2 separate regions of the Homo sapiens genome follow, and region 1 is linked to region 2. Evidence: promoter capture Hi-C in human tissues and cell types (Jung and others, 2019). All regions are on one chromosome and are shown on one strand. The core of a region is centred on a gene start or on the middle of the fragment in contact, and the rest is flanking DNA. Distances in the headings are between cores, read along the strand shown. Region 1 holds the start of AHSP (alpha hemoglobin stabilizing protein). Region 2 holds the start of TRIM72 (tripartite motif containing 72).

Evidence for each region. The method cuts DNA at HindIII sites, captures the fragments that hold promoters and counts their contacts. A contact is called where the count stands out against the background at its distance.
Region 1: a fragment that was not itself captured here is called in contact with the fragment with the promoter of TRIM72 in region 2 in 1 of the 25 tissues and cell types used here (dorsolateral prefrontal cortex).

Annotation. Positions count from the first base shown.
Region 1 is chr16:31,527,496-31,534,230 of GRCh38, forward strand. AHSP (alpha hemoglobin stabilizing protein) reads left to right here and starts at 405. Exons shown (of 3, transcript NM_016633.4): 1 at 405-467; 2 at 641-719; 3 at 963-1,308. The coding sequence starts at 645. The coding sequence ends at 1,196. The HindIII fragment of the contact is 6,447 bases long and covers 1,065-6,735 here.
Region 2 is chr16:31,211,436-31,218,179 of GRCh38, forward strand. TRIM72 (tripartite motif containing 72) reads left to right here and starts at 2,684. Exons shown (of 7, transcript NM_001008274.4): 1 at 2,684-2,862; 2 at 3,297-3,693. The coding sequence starts at 3,304. It overlaps PYDC1 (pyrin domain containing 1), which reads right to left and starts at 5,700. Exons shown (of 2, transcript NM_152901.4): 1 at 5,308-5,700; 2 at 4,527-4,722. The coding sequence starts at 5,593. The coding sequence ends at 5,324. RefSeq lists enhancers at 2,175-3,090, 3,091-4,005, 4,921-5,835. The HindIII fragment of the contact is 10,428 bases long and covers 1-6,744 here.

The DNA.
Region 1 (6,735 bases), core at 3,038-5,537, 320 kb after region 2:
GTGCTTGGCACAAATGAATAAATGTAATGCAAGCTGCTATTAATACATCATCTCCGAATTGGGAGAATCATTGCGATCACATCGTTGTGATTACACAAAAGCCTCTGTCATGTAATAGGGCTCAGTAAACGTCAATTTCCATAGCATTTCGAGCCTGGATACTGAAATATGGGGCAAAAAGCAGGAACATGCCCCTGGTTTGGCTCTTGCCTTCTTGCATTTCCTGGGTTTCCTCATTTATCTTTTTTTTTTTTTTTTTTGGCCTTGTTATCTTTCTACCTTCAGGGAAGCCTCTCCCTTCTTCTCCTCCCTAGAATGACCTATCACCCTCCTTCAGGACCTAGATGCAGGGCGTTTCTATCTTAGGCTGACACTTGACTCCTTGCCTACATCTATAGCTTGGCACAGAGAGATTCACGCACCCTCAAGAGTGTGGGTGAGACATATACAGCCTGTTAGACCTGAAGGTGAGCCCAACCTGGGAAAATCGTGACCTCAGAGCAGGGCAGGATGTGAAAGGTTTTGGAAAGGAGATAGCCCTGCAGGGCAGGAGGGATTTTTAAGGGGAGGAAGTGGGTTGGGGGAAATACCCAGTGAGGAGGGAAACAGATATGTAAATTCTACCCTTTTCTCTACCCAGGCAGATGGCTCTTCTTAAGGCCAATAAGGATCTCATTTCCGCAGGATTGAAGGAGTTCAGCGTTCTGCTGAATCAGCAGGTGAGTCCAAGCTTTCCATTTCAAAGGACTGGCCTGGAGACTGGGGGGTGCCGGGGAAGTGGAGGAAGAGGATAATTGGAGCTGGTGAAGTAATGGTGGAGTTGATGGAAACAACGAGAGACACGGGATACAATGCAGAGGAAAGAGAATGTGAGAGTTGGTGCTGTGGCACTATTCTAGTATTCCCGAATCCCATTGCTGACCACATTCTCCCTTGCCAACTGCCTCTCCGCAACCCCCCAGGTCTTCAATGATCCTCTCGTCTCTGAAGAAGACATGGTGACTGTGGTGGAGGACTGGATGAACTTCTACATCAACTATTACAGGCAGCAGGTGACAGGGGAGCCCCAAGAGCGAGACAAGGCTCTGCAGGAGCTTCGGCAAGAGCTGAACACTCTGGCCAACCCTTTCCTGGCCAAGTACAGGGACTTCCTGAAGTCTCATGAGCTCCCGAGTCACCCACCGCCCTCCTCCTAGCTCAGGGACCCAGCCCCTCCTCTCTGAGAAACTCTGACCTTCATGTCCTTAGGCTGTGCTCCTGCCACTCTACCCTGACACCTCAATAAAGACCAGTGCTGGTTTTGTTGGACTTCCTGGCTTCTCTTTCATGGTCTGTCCTGACATGTGGAGGCACTCGGTCCCTTTCCTTCCGCCCTCCTTCTTAGATATGCTCTTGGAAGCTTAATTCCTTACAGCAGAGGTTAGCAGCCTTGAGTGACCACCGGGCAGCGATTCTAAACTAAAACAGGCTGAACGAGGGCCAGGAAGGCGGGACTAGAGAGAGTGCAGAGCTGCAGGGGAGGGGGTGGCAGAAACAAGAAAGGGGGATAGAAGTCCTCCAGACATTGTCCTGTGACCTGCTTGTCGAGGAGGAAACTGTTGGAAGTCTCCCAGTCTTGTTCATCCTGCGCCAGGTCCACCGCCTCGACTTTTCAATCCCCTGTCCTTAGCCCCAGCTCAAACTACATTCTAGGATCTTCGGACTCTGACTACCGCAAAATACCTCCCCGGAGCCCCAGGCATCGCAGGAATTTAGAGTTGGAAGGGATCCTGGGAACCCTTTAGCGCGCCCCTTATATTTCAGGAGGGGAAGCCACTTCCCTTTGGCTCCAACATCCCTGGGCGCAGATGCCAGGATTGGGAAGCAGAGGAATCCGCCTTCCCCCCACCCCAAGCTTCTCAGATCAATTCCCGGTCTAGCTCCCTTTCTCCCAGACCTCCAGACTCGAAGCCTCTATTTTAGGGCTCTGGGCGGAACCAGGGACGGGCCAGACTCAAGAGCTTTTTAAAAACGAAATGAAGGTGTTAGACCCGCGGCGCAGTCTCCAGGAAAAGCCTCCACGCGCAGAGGGGAGGGCCCTCCGGGGGAGGGTGCGCGGGGCGGGGGCGCGCGGGGGGAGGGGGTTCCCGGGGTGCTGAGCGGGGGCGGGGGTGCGCGGGGCGGGGGCGCGGCTAGGAGGCGCCGCACAGCAATCAGACGCGGCTCAGGGTGCGCGCGGGGAGCTGGAGGGCGCAGTTCTGGACCTTTTCGGTGTTCTCTCTAACGCGGGAAAAGTTTGGGGCCCAGAGGGATTGCTCCTCGTTCCAACCTCCAGCAAGCTTTCCTCTGGGACTTGTGAACCGACTGTTGTTTTGTAGGTCTCTGCAGCCTGGATCAGGGTGGAAAGGGAACCCGCTCAGTGTCCCCAGCGGTGCTTCCAACCCTGGGGTGTGGTCGGCCCTAGATCCAGCTTGGGAGAGTGGCGCCTCCCAGGGAAGCAGGCGGCGAGCTCCTCTGGGTTGGGGTCGGTGGTCCAGGCAGAGTCTGGGGCCTTCTCCACGGCACCTCTCAGGAAATCTCAGTCTGTGAGTGAGGACCAGAGCCCGCTCAGGCGGGACAGTAGTCGGCAGCCTCACCTTTGCAAGAGAGACCTGGCCTGGTGTGTGTGGGTGGAGGAAAGTGAGTGGGGGACGCTAGGAGAGCGCACAGCACAACGCTCCGGTGCCTTATGCAGAATGGCGAAATGTTTGCATGTAACCCACGCACATCTCTTCGTGGACTTCACATCATGGCTAGATTACTTACAATACCGACTACAACGTCAATGCTGTGCAAATAGTTGTTACACTGTATTATTTAGGGAGTAACGACAAGAAAAAAAGCCTGTACATGTTCAGTACAGAGGCAACCATCCATTTTTCTCCCCAAATATTTTCCATCCTTGGTTGGTTGAATCCACAGATGCGGAACCCACAGATACGGAGGGACCACTGTATTTGTCTTTCAGCTTAGCTGAAAAGAATGTTAGAAGCCGCTTTGGCTCAATTCATGAAGAGGAATTTTCCATACCTTTATAACTATCCAGCTATGGGAGCTGCTGAGCTAAGCACTTCTCAGGTGCTCAAAGGAAAATGACCAATTACAGGTGTAAGGTAGAAAAGATTCTCACTGGGAAGTTCAACATTGAAACTCCATTCCGACCATTCCATAAGCTTGTGCAATTGAGAAGCTGCAAAAAATATTTTTAAGACAGAAAAATCTGTTACCTGCACTTTCTGCTCTCATATTACTATCAACGAAGTGACTGGTTATAAATCTACAAGAAGTAAAATTGGGGATATTTTGATTTTTCAGAGACGGTGATATGAACCTGATGGTTCATAATAATAAAAATAAAATAACTAAAGCAGAGAGTGCCCCAAATCCATTACTGTTCCTGAAGGAAAATAAATTAGAATTAGTAAGAATAACCTTCTTTTGCTTAGCAGTATCTGAATTAATACTAGAAATAAGATTGTAAATAAATGGTAAAACATTATAGCCATAACCCTGCCCTTATCCTCACCCTCATATTGAACCTGACCTAGAGCTGACCCTGAACTTGAGCCTCACCTCTAGCTTCATCTTGCCCCTGATCATAATGGACACCTTGCCCTCACAATGACCCTGACTCTCACACTGACATTGCCTCTCATTCTCATTCTTATACTGATCCTGATGCTGAATTGGACCCTAAACTTTACCTGATCCTAATTTTCACCCTGTCTCTGACCCTCAACCTGAATCCTACCCTGACCCTTACCCTGAAATTGACCTTCACTGACCCTTCCCTTAGCATGATGTTGACTCTGACCCTCACTATGACCCTGACCCTTGATCCTCAACTTGACCTAGACAGTGATCATAATTATGACTTTTTTTTTTTTTAAAGAGGCAGGGTCTTGCTCTGTCACCCAGGCTGTAGTGCAGTGGTGCCAGCATGGCTCACAGCAACTTTGACCTCCAGAGCTCAAGCGATCCTCCTACCTCAGCTTCCTGAGTAGCTGGGACCACAGGTGCATGCCACTATGCCTGGCTATTTTTTTTTGTATTTTTTGTAGAGATGGGGTCTCACTATGTTGTCCATGCTGGTCTTGAACCCCTGGCCTCAAGCAAGCCTCCCACCTTAGCCTCCCAAAGCACTGGGACTACAGGTGTGAGCCACTGCACCTGGCCTTTAACCATGACTCTTGACCCTGAAGCATACACTCTCACCTTGACTCTGACCTTGCTCTCGTTCTGACACCACCCCCTCCTTCACACCTGAGCCTTACCCTGGTGCTCACTCTCACCTTGCATCTGACTGTGACACTCACCAGACCCTGATCCTGACTGTCACTTACACACTCTATCTCGTTCTCACCCTGACCCTGATTCTGTACTTGACCCGGACCCTCACTTTTGCCTTCAGTTTTAGCATCACCCTTAATCCCAACCGAACATTGAAGCTAACCCTACAGTGGCACTCAACTTGACCCTCCCCTGGCCTGGAAATCTTAATGTCACCATAACCCTCATCATGACCATAAATCTGACCCTTACCTGACCCTGACTCTGCTGCTTACTTTCCACTGACCCTGACTTGACCCTTATGGTCTCCTTGATCCTGACCTCACCCTGACTCTATAAGGACCCTTATCCATACCTTCACCATGTCCTTGAACCTGCTGTGAATCTGAAACTTATGCTGAGCCTGAACTACACACTCAGCCTGACCCTGGCACTAAGTCTTTCTCACTCTGTGATGAACTCTGACCCTGAAACTGACTCTGACCCTCGCCCTGACCCAGGCTTTGAATGTTTGCCTCACACTCCTTATCCTCACTCTGACACTGACCCCCACTCTGATCCTCACGATGACTCTCAGCTGGACTTTGACCCTGGAACATGACCCTTACCCTCATCAAGACTCAGCAATTTGCTCACACCTGTAGTCCTGGCACTTTGGGAGGCTGAGTTGAGAGGATCACTTGAGGTCAGGCATTTGAGACTAGCCTGGGCAACACAGCAAGACACCCCACCCCCATCTGTACAACAAAATATTCACATTGCATTACAAATGTCTGCTACATCATTGTAGTAAATTCTTTCTTTTTACTCCTATTAGTAGCTGCAACACGTTCTTATGATAAAACTCTGTGCCCAATTCTGACCACTGGAACAAGCTGGACACATCTGGCTTCTTTTTTTTTTTTTTTTTTTTTTTTTTGAGACGGAGTCTTGCTCTGTCATCTAGGCTGGAGTGCAGTGGTGCGACCTCGGCTCACTGCAGCCTCCGCCTCCCAGGTTCAAGCGATTCTCCTGCCTCAGCATCCCAAGTAGCTGGGATTACAGGCACCCACCGCCATGCCTGTCTAATTTTGGTATTTTTAGTAGAGACAAGAGTTTCACCATGTTGGCCAGGCTGGTCTCAAACTCCTGACTTCAGGTGATCCGCCTGCCTCAGCCTCCCAAAGTGTTGGGATTACAGGCATAAGCCACCAAGCCCAGCCACTTCTGGCTTCTTACCAGGGCTGTGACTTGGTGAGACAAAAGAGGAATCAGTGGGAAATTTAAGGAAGCCCTCTCTCGCAGGCTCGTGAAAGTGCAGGGACAGCTCCTGAGAGTGAGGCCTCCTTAAATGTTGTGTCCTGCATGCCTCACTTGCCTTACTCTCCTCTAGGGCCTGCTTCTTGTAGCTCCTAAAGGGTTTTGCCTTCTGGATATTTTTCAGTTCTCCTGCAAATGCAGATGGGCGGCCCATGCCCACTAGTGTTCCAGGCACATCCCAACATGTCCAAGTCCACTTAGAATCCACTGGAATCCCCGATACATTTGTTTGATGCATTTATATATTAATAATGCAGTAGCTCATGCCTGTAATTACAGTACACTGGGAGGCCAAGTTGGGAGGATCACTTGAGTCCAAGAGTCCTAAGAGACCAGCCTGGGCAACATAGAGAAACCCTGTCTCTACAAAAAATACAAAAATTAGCCAGGTGTGGTGGTGCGTGCCTGTGGTCCCAGTGACATGGGAGGCTGAGGTGGGAGGATCACTTGAACCCAGGATTTTTTTTTTTTTTAGATGGAGTCTTGCTCTGTTGCCCAGGCTGGGGTGCAGTCGTGCAATCTCAGCTCACTGCAGCCTCTGCCTCCCAGGCTCAAGTGATTCTCCTGCCTCAGCCTCCCAAGTAGCTGGGACTGCAGGTGCGTACCACCATGCTGGGCTAAAGAGTCCAGGAGTTCTAAGACACCAGCCTGGGCAACACAGGGAAACCCTGTCTCTACAAAAAATACAAAAATTGGCTGGGCGCAGTGGCTCACACCTGTAATCTCAGCACTTTGGGAGGCTGAGGCGGGTGGATCACCAGTTCAGGAGATCGAGACCATCCTGGCCAACATAGTAAAACCCCGTCTCTAGTAAAAATACAAAAAAATTAGCTGGGTGTGGTGGCACGCACCTGTAGTCCCAGCTACTCTGCAGGCTGAGGCAGGAGAATTGCTTGAACCCGGGAGGCGGAGGTTGCGGTGAGCCGTGATCCTGCCACTGCATTCCAGCCTGGGAAACGGAGCGAGACTCCAGCTCAAAAAAAATATATATATATGTGTATATATATATTTTCAAGGTAAGTAATCTAGCTTCTGTAAGCCTCAGTTTCCTATTTTTGTATGTGTGAGGGAATAAACTACTTGATCTTTCTATAGCAAATGTCATGTTTTTGTGAAAGGTTTTCTGAA
Region 2 (6,744 bases), core at 1,434-3,933:
TCTCTACTAAAAATACAAAAATTAGCTGGGCGTGGTGGCACGTGCCTATAATCCCAGCTACTCGGGAGGCTGAGGCAGGAGAATCGCTTGAACCTGGGAAGTGGAGGTTGCAGTAAGCCGAGATTGTACCACTGCACTCCAGCCTGGGCGACAGAGCAAGACTCCATTTCAAAAAAAAAAAAAAAAAGAAAAAGAAAAAATTAAGAACCTAAGAGACAGGCAAAGGGAGAGTCCAAAGGGGAGATTAAGAGAGTGAAACAGAAACAAAAATTCATTCTGAGAGAGACAGCAGTTGAGAGAGGAAAGAGTAAAACCAGGAAAAGGTTTGAGGGAAGCTAAGAGAAAGATGGAGAGGCCAAATGAGAGGGACTGAGTTTGCGTGTTTATTCATTCACCTAGTATCTGTAGAGCGCCTAATGTGTGTCACACACTTTAGTCTAAGCTGGAGACAAGCAGTAAACACAATTTCTATTCCGTAGGAAGAGACAGACAAGAAACCAGCAAACAAGTAGAATACATTGCATGTCAGATGCTGATAAATGTTATGGAGAAAAGGAAAGCCAGGCAGTGAGATGTTGGGGAGTTAGGAGATTTAAAATCAGGGAATTGGGAGAGGTCTTGCTGGAAAGGTAATATTGAGCAAAGTCTGAGGGAGGAAAAAGAGGATGCCATGCAGTACCTGGGTTGGAGAGTGTTCCAGGCAGAGGGGACCGTAAGTGCAAAGTCCCTGATGCCGAGTGATCAATGGGGAAAGGGGTGATAAAAGAGTCAGAGTGATTAATGGGGTCATAGCAGATAGGGCTTTGTAAGCCACAGTTAGCACTTTGGTTTTTATTCTAGATGAAATTTCTTTCTTTTCTTTTTTTTAATATTTATTGTTTTTTTTGAGACGGAGTTTTGCTCTTGTTGCCCATGCTGGAGTGCAATGGCATGATCTTGGCTCACTGCAACCTCTGCTTCCCAGGTTCAAGCAATCCTCCCATCTCAGCCTCCCGAGCAGCTGGGACTACAGGTGTTCTTCACCATGCCCAGCTATTTTTTTTGAGTTGGAGTTTCGCTCTTGTCACCCAGGCTGGAGTCCAGTGGTGCGATCTCGGTTCACTGCAACCTCTGCCTCCCGGGTTCAAGCGATTCTCCTGCCTCAGCCTCCCAAGTAGCTGGGATTACAGGTACCTGCCACCACACCCGGCTGAGTTTTGTATGTTTCATAGAGACGAAGTTTAACCATGTTGGCCAGGCTGGTCTCAAACTCCTGACCTCAAGTGATCCACCCGCCTGGGCCCCCCAAAGTGCTGGGATTACAGGTGTGAGCCATTGTGCCTGGCCCTTGCCAACTTTTTAATGGGGTTGTTTTCTGCTTGTTGAAATGTTTAGTTTCTTTATATATTCTGGATAGTAGATCTTTGTTGGATGCATAGTTTGTGAATATTTTCTTCCATTCTTTTTTTTTGAGACGGAGTCTCACTCTGTACCCCAGGCTGGAGTGCAGTGGCGCGATCTCGGCTCACTGCAAGCTCCGTCTCCCGGGTTCACACCATTCTCCTGCCTCAGCCTCCTGAGTAGCTGGGATTACAGGTGCCCGCCACTGCGCCCGGCTAATTTTTTGTATTTTTAGTAGAGACGGGGTTTCACTGTGGTCTCGATCTCCTGACCTCATGATCCACCCGCCTTGGCCTCCCAAGAGTGCTGGGATTACAGGCGTGAGCCACCGCGCCTGGCCTTTCTTCCATTCTTCAGTTGTCTGTCTGTTGATAGTTGCTTTTGCTTTTGCTGTGCAGAAGCTCTTTAGTTTAATGAGGTCCCACTTAACAATTTTTGTTTTTGTTGCTTTTGAGGACTTAGTCAAGAATTCTTTACCAAGGCTGATATCCAGAATAGTATTTCTCCTGCGGTTTCTTCTATGATTTTTATGGTTTGAAGTCTTACATTTAAATCTTTAACCCATCTTGAGTTAATTTTTTTTATATGGTGAAAGGTAGGGGTCCAGTTTCATTCTCTTGCATAAGGCTAGCCAGTTATCCCAGCGCCACTTAAATGAAATTTCAGCTGAGATTTGAAAGATACACATACAGGAACCAGGGCAGAATTGAGTTCTGGGCTGCAGGCTCTGGATTCAGTTCATTCATTTGTTCAATGTCTCTCTATCATTCATTCTCCAAGCATTTAGAGAGGCCTACTTTGTCCCAGGCTTGTCCTGGGTGTACTAGAGAGACCAAAGTGGAAAAGACCCTCCCCTCAGCTCTGGAGGAAGAAAACATTTCAGGGTGGGGTGAGGTCCTGCCCTCCTGCAGGTGGGGTAATCCTGCCAGGGTGACCTTGGTCAGCCATAAACTTGGGGAATGAGTGGGTGACAGGCTGGGGAGGGGCTGCCAGCAAGGAGGAAGGAGCTGGAGAGTGTGGAGGTGGGAGTGGGGGGAGAAAGGGCAGACCCCCTTCAATTTTCTGTCTTTTCTGTGGTGTGAAAGGCCCTGGCTCCCCGCTGGCTCTGAGCTCTGACTCCAGGCAGGCCGGGGAGAGAACAGTGGATGGGCCAAGACAGGTGGCCCTGTCATGTGATGTGTGCCCAGGGACTACTCAGCCCTCACTTTTAGAACGGTTTCCGGAAGTGATGGGAGGGATTGGGCAGGGCAGCTAAATATAGTCCTGGGGCCATGGCTCAGTCTGGGAGGGTCTTCCGCTGAGCACTGTGTGCCCATCACGCGTGGTGTCCACTGCCAGCTGCCCCTGTGAGTCCCTGTCCTTGCTTGGAGCCTGCTGCTTGTCTCAGATCCTTGGACCCAGCCCTGACCCCAGTCCAGCTAAGCTCAACCCTGACCGGTCCTCCTTCGAGACTCTTTCAGCCTAAGATCTCCAACCAGACCTGTGAGTCCCGTGGGCTGGAGAGAGGGGGAGGGGAGGTCTGGGTATCTTGGTAAAGTGAGGGAGGGGAGTCTCGGAGTGGGGGCTCTGGAGAATTTGGGTCCGGGACTAAGGTCAGAGGCTGAGGCCTGGGGCTAAGGCGAGGGCAAGGACAGTGGGCTAGAATCTGGGCTTGTGTTCAGGAACTGGGGTTGACTGATAGGGCATATTTTTGGGGTTGGAGCTGAGAATTGCAGTGGAGGCTGCTTTTGGGCCTGAGACCGAGTTCCTCTTTCCCCTTGGCCGTCAGAGTCCCATCCAGTGTAGGATGTGAGGTCTTTACAGGCTGGGGCTTCTCCCTGCGGGGCGGCGGGCCCGGCCTGGGCTAGGGCTGGGCCAGGGCTGGGCCGGGAGCGCGGCGCCGCGGGGTCCCCCTAACCTACTCCTCCTCCACCCAGGCCCGCCATGTCGGCTGCGCCCGGCCTCCTGCACCAGGAGCTGTCCTGCCCGCTGTGCCTGCAGCTGTTCGACGCGCCCGTGACAGCCGAGTGCGGCCACAGTTTCTGCCGCGCCTGCCTAGGCCGCGTGGCCGGGGAGCCGGCGGCGGATGGCACCGTTCTCTGCCCCTGCTGCCAGGCCCCCACGCGGCCGCAGGCACTCAGCACCAACCTGCAGCTGGCGCGCCTGGTGGAGGGGCTGGCCCAGGTGCCGCAGGGCCACTGCGAGGAGCACCTGGACCCGCTGAGCATCTACTGCGAGCAGGACCGCGCGCTGGTGTGCGGAGTGTGCGCCTCACTCGGCTCGCACCGCGGTCATCGCCTCCTGCCTGCCGCCGAGGCCCACGCACGCCTCAAGGTGCGGGATCCGCGCGCATCGTGGTCGGAGGGGCTGTTCGGTGGCACGGGGCCGATGGGGAGGTCGCTGCAGTGATTTGGATTCTGAGTCTCTAGAGAGGCTCACGAGCTCCTGGAGTTGCGGGGGGCGGGGGCGGGGCGAAGCAGCCAGGAAAGAGGGTCTGAGGAGCTTAAGGCGGGGCTGGCAGAGGAAAGCCGCGCAGGGATGGAGCCTGGCGATAAGGGCGCTGAGCAAACGTAGGTTTCCCGGCCTTAGTCCCTAGAGGAAACTGGAGATGGGCGGGCGGAGCCCCAGGGCGGGTCTGATGGGCCGGGCGGAGCCAGGCGGAGCAGGGACTGACCAGCCCCTGCGGCCCACGCTCGCATTCCTGCACCCGGTGGGCCGTTCGGGCTGGCTCCCTGCTCGGCGCTGGCCCACTTTGGACTGGAGGCGCGGCGTTCGGGACCGAGCCAGGCGGCCGGGGCAGGGTTGTCCCCTTGTGCTCAGCGGAGGCCCACGCACCCCTGAAGCTGCGGAACTTGGGCTGGCCTGACGGTCCCCAGGCGGGGCCTCACCAGAAGGGAGACTGTAAGGGCTAGGCAGCCGGGATCTGCACTTATGTGTGCGGGCCCAGGGTGGCACCGAGAGCCCCGTCCAGGATGTTTTTCTGGGTGGAGCTGGAAGTCCCGAAAGCCTTGGGAGCCCACACGCAGTTGTGCGCGTCCCGAAGTACCCAGCAGAGACACCCAGACAGAGGCAAATAGAGACGAACGCACACTGGCTGGTGCGTGTCATCCGTGTGGCAAAAGCACACACGTATAGCTACCGGCGGGCACGTGTGCGCGCAGCCCCAGTAAAGTCTGCCATGAATATTTATTGGGCAGTGGAAGAATAAATGACAGGTGCAGGGGCTGGAGGAGGCGGGGTCTGGAGGCACGGAGGCGTCCTTGGTCCCCGAGGTGGAGACACTGCTGTTGTCTTACGCGACTGGTGCGCGCGTGGGGCTGGCTTCACAGGCGTTGCATTACTCCTTTTGCCTTGACCCGCCTCCTAGAAGGGGTAGACCACCGTCCTTTCGTTGGTATTCGAGGCCCCCAGACTTCCCAGGGACCCAGCCTCTCAGTCCTGCCTGGCCCAGTTCAGCCCAGTCCTAGCTGGTGGTCTCCTAGCTCAGGGCAGGAGCCTCCTCCCGGGACCCCTCCCATCCCAGCACACCTGTGCTTAAGACCCCAACCTCAGGGCAACCCGCTCGGATCCCCTTCCATGCTGTGGAAGCTTTGTTCTTTTGCTCTTTGCAATAAATCTTGCTGCCGCTAAAAAAAAAACAAAAAACAAACAAACAAAAAAAACCCAACCTCGCCCAACCTTGCCCGTCTTTATCTGCGAAGAAAGCACAGAACCCATGAAACGGAACAGGGCCCAGGCAGCCCAGGAGCCTGGAAGGGGGCAGTGGGGCGAGATGCAGCCCACCAGGGTTCGCGGCAGCCCAGCCCTTCGCCCCCGGGAGGGGCTGGCCGGAGGTCTGAGGGAGGACCCCAGGAGGGACCCTGAAGGAGGGGAACAGGAAGGCTCTGGGCGGGACCTGACGCGTGGGTCCTTGGCGAGGAAGCGGGGTTGGGTCCCGAGATCACGTACCAGCTCAGAGTGGCCCTCACGCAGCCCGCTGCAGCCGTGCGGCCTCCTCCAACATGCGCATGTCGCGCAGCACGGCCACGACGAGCTCGGCTGCGTAGTCCTCGTAGTAGGAGGCGACCAGCTTGTCGGTGAGGTCCACGATATCTAGCTGCCCGAGCGCGCCCCGCGGGATGCGCTCAAAGCCCTCGCGCAGCGGCACCGTCCCCAGCTTCATCTTGAACTTCTTGAGCTCCTCCGGTGTCAGGTTCTCCAGCACCTTCAGGATGGCCTCGCGCTTCGTTCCCATGGCTCAGCCCTGCGCCTCTGAGCCTCCGAGGGCCTGGAGCCATCAGGTCCTACCTTTCCTGCAGCAGGTGGAGCTGCCGCCCCCGGGGATGTCCCGGGAAGGAGACTGATCTGGCAGCTCCTATTCAACCCTGTGGCTCCTGCTGGGAGGGGACTCTGCAAACACCGCCTAGAGGGTCCCCCAGTTTCCCCTGGGAGAGTGGGGGCGCCAAATTGTTGAGGTGGGGATTGCTGTTCCCAATCTGCAGAGGAGGAAACAGGTTGCAAGTCATTGAGGCAGGAATGGAACTGATTCCATGGTCAGGCACCTCCCAGCAAAGAAGTGGCTTTGTAGCCTGGCATGGTTGCTCATGCTTGTAGTGCCAGCTACTCGGGAGGCTGAAGCAAAAGGATTGCTTGAGCCTAGGAGTTCGAGTTGTGATTCTGCCACTGCACTCCAGCCTAGGCAATCCTGTCTCCAAAAAAAAAAAAAAAAAAAAAAAAAATGGCTTTGGCAGGAGTATTGGGAGCTCTCCTATATTTGCATATTTGCATTTGAGGTCTTGGGTAAGATCTAGACCACAGAATGGTTGGTCTGTGCAGGGGACATTTTTTTTTTTTTTTTTGAAATGCAGTCTTGCTCTGTCGCCCAGGCTAGAGTGCAGTGGCACATTCTTGGCTCACTGCAACCTCCGCCTCCCTGGTTCAAGTGATTCTCCTGCCTCAGCCTCCCGAGTAGCTGGGATTACAGGCACTTGCCACAGCGCCCAGGTAATTTTTGTATTTTTAGTAGAAATGGGGTTTCACTATCTTGGTCTGGCTGGCCTTGAACTCCTGACCTCGTGATCCACCCGCCCTGGCCTCCCAAAGTGCTGGGATTACAGGTGTGAGCCACCACGCCCGGCCAGCAGGGGACATTTTAATTAAATTTCCTGCCCCCTACTCCAAGCCCATGTGTGTACAGGCAGGCTGACTTGGTGGTCAGGCTGACAGGCTGACTGAGGCTGATGTTCTGCTTTTAAGTAAGAGAGGAAGCCCAGGAGTAGGGGTAGGTTGCCTTTCTTCTTTCATATATCCTTCATGTACCCCCTGAGGTCTGTTGTGTGCCAAGCTCTGTGCCTGCCTGTCTGGTGGGAGAGACCAAACCACACTGATGTTTGTCATCCTCGCAAA